Linked DNA regions of Homo sapiens: all the other regions are linked to region 3. The links are contacts of gene promoters, found by promoter capture Hi-C in blood cells and fetal thymus (Javierre and others, 2016). All regions are on one chromosome and are shown on one strand. The core of a region is centred on a gene start or on the middle of the fragment in contact, and the rest is flanking DNA. Distances in the headings are between cores, read along the strand shown. Region 1 overlaps TRIM67 (tripartite motif containing 67). Region 2 overlaps GNPAT (glyceronephosphate O-acyltransferase). Region 3 holds the start of C1orf198 (chromosome 1 open reading frame 198).

Region 1 (2,707 bases), core at 128-2,627, 330 kb after region 3:
CTGGGGACCGGGCCCCCTTCCTTGTATTTCCACCTACTCCCTGTGTCTTTTTGTGGGCTTCCTTTGCCATCTTCTCCATAGGTTTTCAGTGGAGGCTGCACTTGCACAGTCCAGGGGATCTCAAACTGCATCAGAACCCCCTGGAGGGCTTGGTAAACCGCAGACTCCAGGGCTTCACCCACGACCTCTGATCAGCAGATCTGGGGTGCAGCCAGAGACGGTGCACTTCAACAAATCGCCCAGTGATGCTGATGTTGCTGGTCTAGAACCACACTTTGACAACCGTTGGTGTGGTCTAAAGAATCCCATTCACTGATTCATGCATTCAACAAATATTTATTGAATGCCACCATGTGCCGGGTACTCTTCCAGTGCCGGGATAAGCTGTGAGCCACCCAGCAAAGCCCTTGTCCTTCATTCTAGGACATGGAGATGGACAGCAAACAAGTTTTCTAGGTTGGGTGGTGACGACTGTTAGGAGGAAGAATAAGCCAGGGGAAGGCGAGGGGGATATTGCACAAGGTCGTGAGGAAAGTCCTCACTGACACAGTGACGTCTGAGCAGAGACCTGGGAGGGGACTTGGGGGAGAAGGAGACCCTGGCCCTTCTGACTCTGCTTTGTTCTATCCTCAGCTTTTTAATGTGGAAAATGAGAGTCATGTAAAAATCAGGGTCACAGTCTGGATGGGCGTGATGGCTCACACCTGTAATCCCAGCAATTTGGGAGGCCAAGGTGGAAGGATCACTTGAGACCAGGAGTTTGAGATCAGCCTGAGCAACACAGCCTCCGAGACACCATCTCTACTAAAAAATGCAAAAATTAGCTGGAGGCTGATTTGGGAGGATCACTTGAGCCTGAGAGGTTGAGGCTGCAGTGAGTCATGATTGAGCCACTGCACTCTAGCCTGGGCAACACAGTGAGACCCTGTCTCAAAAAAAAAAAAAATCAAGGTCACAGTCTACTCAATAGCTAGGTTTTAAAGACAAATTCAATTGTGTGTGTATGTGGTTCGTTACAAAAAAGCCTGGTGCCAAAAGCCATAGATTTGAGCTCAGCTTGCAATTTCACCCTTGGGCCACAGCAACTGATCCTCATGCTTCAGAAGCTTCTGCTGGTCACACCCCTCTCTGCAGGGTGAGGAGTCCCCAGGGCTAAGGGTACCAGGCTAGGAGCCTGTATGCCCCTTTAGAGGATGCCCTAGGATTACCAGTCCATACACCTAGTCCAGTTCCAGGACCCACAGCCCCCTTCCTGTCCATCCCTCAGGGCATACCAGGCCCCAGGGTTTGCACCCCAGGCCAGGAGATGACTGTGTAGGGATGGGGTGGACGGAACCTGACCTGGGGTCTGGAATGTCCATACAGGCATGTACTGATTATGGATAGAGGGGGCCAGGCCAAGCCAAGGACTCTATTTATCTTCTTGTCTTGGGCTCTACAAACATCAGGGGCAGACCTGTTTGCTTCAACCCGTTAGCTGAGTGCTCCTTACCTCTATCCAGCTTTGGGGATGAGAAAGGAGAGTGCAGGCCAATCTACCACTGTTGGAAAAATAAACAAATGTTGTAGAGATCATGGGTCAGTGGTGGTCCCTTCATCAATGAGAACAGCAGATGCGTGGGATCAGTCCTATCCCCTCTTATAAACATAAGCTTTTATGATGAAGTGCAAATTTTCTGTGCCTTTCACAACTAATTTTTCTTTTCAACATGTGATATCTTTTTCAGGCACAACTATCTCAGGCCTTAAATGGAGTTTCAGATAAGGCAAAGGAAGCAAAGGAGTTTCTGGTTCAGCTAAAGAACATATTGCAGCAGATCCAGGTGAGCACAGCTCTGGCGTCGGGAGAAATACTCAGTGTTGAAAGTTTGCACGTTGTGCATCGTATTAAGAAGAAAGAGGCGGGGCACGGTGGCTCACACCTGTAATCCCAACACTTTGGGAGGCCGAGGCGGGCAGATCACCTGAGATTGGGAGTTTGAGACCAGCCTTACCAACATGGAGAAACCCGTCTCTACTAAAAATACAAAAATTAGCCGGGCGTGGTGGCGCATGCCTGTAATCCCAGCTACTCTGGAGTCTGAGGCAGGAGAATCACTTGAACCTGGGAGGCGGAGGTTGCAGTGAGCCGAGATTGTGCCATTGCACTCTGGCTTGGGCAACAAGAGAGAAAGTCTGTCTCAAAGAAAAGAAGAAGAAGAAGAAGAAGGAGAAGGAGAAGGAGAAGGAGAAGAAGGAGAAGAAGAAAGGAAAAGTCTTGTAGCAAGCATTTTCTCAGTGATGGACATTAGAAGGTTTATGTGTCCTACCCTATAGCCTTGGGTGCTGAAAGTGTCACATATTCAACTCATTGGCACACAAGTGACACCTGATACAGGAAAGGACTTTTACATGGAGCCAATTAGAGAGAGCTGGAAAGATGTGATCTAGCACTCTACGTGCCATGTCGTCGTCCTTTGTGGCATCTGTATATGGTGCTTTTGTGGCCGAATATGCCCATGTCATCAATGCATCAAAATATAAATGCATCATTTTCTAAACAAATGTGTTTACTGAACTCTTATGCTGTGTCATGTACTGAGCCCAGCACAAGATACAAAGATCAATGAGGCACCATGTGTGCCTCAGGGTCTGTCTATAGGGGAGAACGTGCACACACAGGTGCTCCTGTGTGAATGTGCACACATAGAGGAACTGCTCATAAGAT
Region 2 (2,821 bases), core at 98-2,597, 410 kb after region 3:
ACTCGGCTCTGTTCATATAATACATGCACTGGCTCTGGGCACCTGGACCCACTTCCTGGTGCTTGTGGTCCGTGAAATAACTCATTCAGCCTCCTTGCACAAAGTCTAGCACTTACTGAGCATTTGATAAATGCTAGTTCTACCCTTAATCACTGTTCTACAGTAGAAATCATCAAGTATTTTAGGGCATGGTACTTTCTTAGGTGTATTTAGAGAAAAAAAGCAAAGTTATTAAAATCTGACCCCTCTCTTCCCAAGTAGCATAAGAGATACGAAGCTGATGGTAATTAACTTGTACCCCTTGAAGTGAGAAATTATACTTTAATAAATGTCATTATTATTTTAAATCTTTTTCTAATTGTAAAATGTAAACTCAAAGGAGATGCCCTAAAAATTCTTTGGTTTTTCTGGGCTCATTCCTTGGAGGGTCTTTATGCTGCTCTCTTGTGATATATCCTTCTCTTAAGAGGGGCAATGTAAAGTTATTTACTATTCTGTTGAACTTGGCTATCCTTTTTCTCTTTCTGTTCCCCTCATCCTTCCTCTTAAAATCAGATAATTTGCAAGTACCTTTTGAGTGAAGAAGAGGACCACTTCAGTGAGGAACAGTACTTGGCTGCAGTCAGAAAATTCACAAGTCAGCTTCTCGATCAAGGTCAGTCACTGCTCTGTGGGTGCTGATTTCTTTTAGTTGAGAATAGAAACTGGTCAACTAACTCTTCCTCACCCCCAATTTTAGGTACCTCTCAATGTTATGATGTATTATCTTCTGATGTGCAGAAAAACGCCTTAGCAGCCTGTGTGAGGCTCGGAGTAGTGGAGAAGAAGAAGATGTAAGTACTGTACAAGATCCCATGAGTGCTCAAGGAACAAGGAAATGAATGACATTTGAGCTCAAAATCCAGAGAGACATAGAAATGGATGATCTAGGAAATGCTATATTCTACTTTCCTTATCCATCCTCTAATTAGTTAAGTCAGTGTGAGTTATCCTGAAAATTGTATGTGGTTATGAATAGAAATGCAACTGAAGCAAAGAAAGGAAGAAATAACTTTAGGCCAATATTTTTGCTTTGACTTAATGTTGAAATTTATAATTACAAGAAAGATTTTCGGGAGTGTAGTGGGCATATGAGTGTAGACACACATAAATACACACATAATACATATATAGATACATACCTGTATATGTATATATAAACATATAGATGTATGTTCTTCTAAGTGGTTGAATTTAACAGTGATAAAGCTTAATAGTAAACTCTGGCAGTCATGTCTCTTATGTGGTCAGAAGAATGAAGCAAGAAGCCAGGAGGTGGGACAGGAGCCTGAGGCCTTTCGACTACTTAGGCCCAGCCTTGAGGAAGGCAATTGAAAAGTAGTCTTACAATAGCTACGTCAGGAACAAAATATAAAAGTTGTCTTTTCCCCAGAGTTTATGTAATAATAAAGCTTATTATTTTCTCCTAGAAATAATAACTGTATATTTAATGTGAATGAACCTGCCACAACCAAATTAGAAGAAATGCTTGGTAAGTGCAGTTTAATAAAATACAAGTTTTCACATTTTGTTGATGAATTAAAATAAGAAAGTATACTGTGGCACCAAATACTTTATCAAAATGATCAGTAAGTAGTAGAGTTCTAACATAAAAGGGAATTACTTATGCAGTCTGGAATTTTCTCAAGGAAGCTAACGAGAAAGCACAAAGAAAATTAACAAAACACAGCAGGCATAAAAGAAGCAGTCTTACACAGTAGAAAGAGTCAGTCCCTAACATGACTGGTCTCAGCCAGAGGCCCAGACCCTTCACATCCTTGCCTCAGAGAGAGTACCTCATCTCCACTCTTTGTTTGATGCTCTCACTGTCTGTCTTGCATTGCTTCTTTCCCAAGTGAGAGATTAGTGTCAGTGTCTCTATCATGTAGACTTTCTGAACTCAGAATTAGGGCTGATAGCACATCCTTGGGAGAATAATCCAACCCTTACTCTTCTCTAGAGCCTATCAGCTATGAAGAAATAGTCTAGTCCAAAAAGAGTCCTTGAGTGTTGTCTTCCTTGACATAAGAGTCCTTGAGTGTTGACATAAACAGAGGTACAATCAGAGGGGGTCAAGAACACTTTTCCTAGCAATGATGCGGCCATTTTAGAAAGGAGGGTGTTAACATTTGGAAAAAATAATCTGCTGATTATATTGAATGGCGTGATGTCCTTGAGTGGATCGTCTTCCAAGTACTGTTTTTGTACCTAATCTTAATTCAGTACCTCGTCAAACCTGCATGGAAGAGCTTTAGATAAATGTCTGTTGGGATTTGCGGAAGACCAGAATGGGGCATACGGAAAAGGAGAATGGATGAAGAAAAGGGTAGAAGGGCAGTGGGGTAGTTGTTGCATATCGGGAAGGCGGAAGTACTAGACCTTGTAGAAAAAAATATGTAGGTCGAAATCCCAGTCTTCTATTTATATCGTGTCTGAAGAGGTGCATATACCTAAAACAACCACAAACACCTCGCCCTGTGAGGGTGACGGAATCAATTACTTAATCACGGAAAGCAGATGTGATGTGAGCGTGAACATACTGGACTGGAGTTCAGAAAACATGACGGGGTTCAACTCCTGGCCCTGGCCCTGTGGCTCTGGCCATGCTGTCACCTCTTGGAGCATCTACCGCTTCCCTTGTGGAGGGGGCTGGCGTCCCCATGGGTACTGGCCAGCCTGTGAAGCTCTGCACAAGTCTCCAGCTTCTCCCCTGGACAGTCGCCCAAGGAACAGCTGTATGAGGAAGGGCAAAATCAGCATCATTTCATGAGCTGCTTCTCTT
Region 3 (2,801 bases), core at 178-2,677:
TCCTCGGAAAAAATCTCTCCCAGCTTCTCCTTCCTCTAGCCCAAGAAACAGCCTTAACAGCGAGCGATTTCATTCCTACACTCTTTGCTCAGCTTGACTTTGCTCCTCACGGCAAAAGTTGAGTTTGAAACGCCAAAGAGTCACAGTGCAAATTCTAATGGCACCAAACAGGCTTCGGTTAAACACATTTCTAAGAAAAAGAAGACCAAGTTTCTGAACCCTACAGAAGATTCAGGCGTTTGTGACTAAGTGTGGGTCATCCCTGAGCTTTTTCTGGAACAGATTCAGCGTTTCTACCTTCACAAATGACTGTCCCTCTAGCAGTCTGGACAGTGTCTAGATCTGAGACCTAAACATGCCCTGTTATGTGGCCAAGACTTACTGGAGCTCATTTAAACTTATCGTCCCTTAGTTTTTTGGTGGAAAACAGGGCCACCATGCTCACCCTTAAAACATACGCTGGGCATTGTGCTCACTTGGAAAACATCTTAGGGTGATGGATGGGTTTCCCTCCTTATCTTGGAAGACACCTTTTCTTCCTTGTTACCTGGCTTGGCAATTTTACTTTCCCCATACATCTCATCACAAGTATTCATGTTAGTATATATCATTTGCTCAGTCCCTTCACGGGCAGGCACGGGGTGGCGTTATTACCCCCGTTTTACACAGTGGAAACTGAGGCTCTAAGAAGTTAATTGACCCACCGCCATACAGGTAGTAAGTAGCAGAGCTGGATTAAAACCCAGGCTTGTCTGGTTTAAAATTGCTTGTTGTTTCCACTTTGGTCAGCCTCGCTTACGACAGCTCCGGGAGAAGTCTCTGGAGTCCGTGCGAGCCGGCGGATCAGGTCTAGATGGAGGTTCTTTAACGACCCACCTCTCGGCGATCTCTTAACCAACTCCCCCAGCGGAGCCCCCACCCCCCGAACTTCGGCTCTGGGGCTCCCCTCCCACCCACTGCCATTCCTGCCTTTTCTTTTCCAGCCCCTACCAGCTGGGGCGGCCTCACGCCGGCAGGTGCCCACCGGGCCGGGGCGCCTCGGGGCGCCGGGAGGGGAAGAGGGTCCGCGGCCAGGCCCGCACCTACCTCGTCCCCGAAGCGCACCACCTTCTGGCCCGTGGGCCCGCGCAAGCCGGGGAAGCGCGTGAGCTCCTCCGAGTCCCCGGGGTCTCGGGGCGCCGGGGCGCGCGGCCCCACCAGGCACCGGTCGATGATCTCGTCCTGCTGCGCGGGCGGCAGCCGCGCCCACTCGGGCCCGTACTTCTCGCGGATCTTCTCCTTGTCCTGCATGATCTTCCTGGCCATGGGGCTCAGCGACGAGAAGTAAGTGAAGCGCTTTCGCTCCCGGTCGTCCAGAGGCCGGTTCCCGCTCATGACCGCCGAGCGCGAAGCCGCGATCGCCGCCGCCATGGACGCCATGCCCGGCCTGCCCGCCGCTCCCGGCCCGCGCCCCGCCCCTCGCTGTGCCCGCCCTCGCCCCGCCCCGCGCCACCCGGAGCCCCGCCCCCTCCGGGAACCCCGCCCTGCACCGCCGCGTACCCGGGTCTCCAAGCCAACCCAGCTCCCCAAGCCCCGGGACCCCGGCCCTCCGTGGCCCCCTCCCCGGGAGCTCCTCCCTCCGGGCCCCCCCCCGCCACCCCCTCGCGGACCCCACGAGTCCCCCTTTACGCCTCCATAGTGGATTACCGCGGTGCCCGCAGGTTTCGGGCTCCCCTTACCCGGCTCAGGTGGTAGCCGGCGTGTCCCTGAGTCCGCGCCCGGCGCTCTGAGAGGGTGGCCGTGGTTAATTCCCGGTAGTGACCGCCATAGCGCCACGTGGCCACTGCTTGACAAAGGAAACTTTTTTCAACCTCCAGTGAGCCTAAGAAAGCCCCAGCATTTCAGGCCAAGCCGCTGGCTGCCTGGCTTCTGTTTTTACTCCTTTCCTTCTGTCCCTTTCTGGGACGAGCCACACCTTCTCTGCTTTCTCTGGGCCCGTCCAGGACGCTGGGCCCGGGGCCTGGCGCGGTGAGCTGCAGATAGCCGGGGGCGCAGGGCAGCCCGGAGGCTGGAGGGCGACCTGGAAGGCTGGACCGGTTCGGGGCATCTGGTGCTCAAGGAAAGTCAGCTCCCGCCGCCCCTCGGGGCCAGGTGGGTGCATGAAGTACCCGGTGGCCCAGGTGCCTTTCCCCAACCCAAGGAGCTCAGAACTCTTGGCAGTTCGACGTTTGCAAACAAACCAAAGAGGAGCAGAAAGTTTTCAGACTCAGAGGCGACATCCCAACAGGTAGGGGGCCAGGGTTTGTAATTTTGAGGTGTGTCCCAGACAGACCACAAAATTAAAATTATAGCGAGCCCCCACTTCCCCCAAGCCCCTCTCTCCATCTGACTGATTTTAACAAGACTAACAGGACTCAGGTGAGAATTGTGTCCACTCGTAAAATAAAAAAACAAAAACAAAAACCAGCATTTCAGCTGTTATCCAGGGTCTTTGCCTGGATAGTTCTGAACACAAAAGTAGAAATAACTTGCAAAGTCCTATTTTAAATGTGAGATGGCCTCATCTTCCGGCCCAGAAATCCTCAGAATATTTTTGGAATGTCATGAATGTGGCAGGCTCTACAGTTAAAGACATTATTATCAACAATGTTCACAACATAATATATTGAAGCAGGGAAAGGCAAGCACCACCAAATATAGTCTCCACAGTAAGTGGCGGATTATTTATGAGACCGGAAGTTTAAGGACAGTTTTTTGGAGTATGATCTTCTGTTTGAGTTGATGCTAGAGAAGCTCAATACATTGACCTGAATCCCACTGAT

Evidence for each region. Contacts are between HindIII fragments. The CHiCAGO score rates a contact against its expected background, and 5 or more counts as called.
Region 1: a fragment that was not itself captured here is called in contact with the fragment with the promoter of C1orf198 in region 3 in 3 of 17 cell types (erythroblasts, fetal thymus and naive CD8 T cells); the score reaches 6.8 in erythroblasts.
Region 2: a contact is called between a fragment that was not itself captured here and the fragment with the promoter of C1orf198 in region 3, in 1 of 17 cell types (total B cells). The highest score is 5.4, in total B cells.

Annotation. Positions count from the first base shown.
Region 1 is chr1:231,195,644-231,198,350 of GRCh38, forward strand. TRIM67 (tripartite motif containing 67) reads left to right here. Exons shown (of 10, transcript NM_001004342.5): 2 at 1,728-1,823. Among named protein-coding and RNA genes, the nearest start is that of TRIM67-AS1, 9.4 kb to the left of the region's middle. The HindIII fragment of the contact is 546 bases long and covers 1,105-1,650 here.
Region 2 is chr1:231,274,666-231,277,486 of GRCh38, forward strand. It overlaps GNPAT (glyceronephosphate O-acyltransferase), which reads left to right. Exons shown (of 16, transcript NM_014236.4): 13 at 556-655; 14 at 740-833; 15 at 1,470-1,531. Among named protein-coding and RNA genes, the nearest start is that of GNPAT, 35 kb to the left of the region's middle. The HindIII fragment of the contact is 203 bases long and covers 1,247-1,449 here.
Region 3 is chr1:230,867,094-230,869,894 of GRCh38, forward strand. It overlaps C1orf198 (chromosome 1 open reading frame 198), which reads right to left and starts at 1,428. Exons shown (of 4, transcript NM_032800.3): 1 at 1,087-1,428. The coding sequence starts at 1,419. RefSeq lists a silencer at 1,357-1,576 and an enhancer at 1,400-1,991. The HindIII fragment of the contact is 18,150 bases long and covers 1-2,801 here.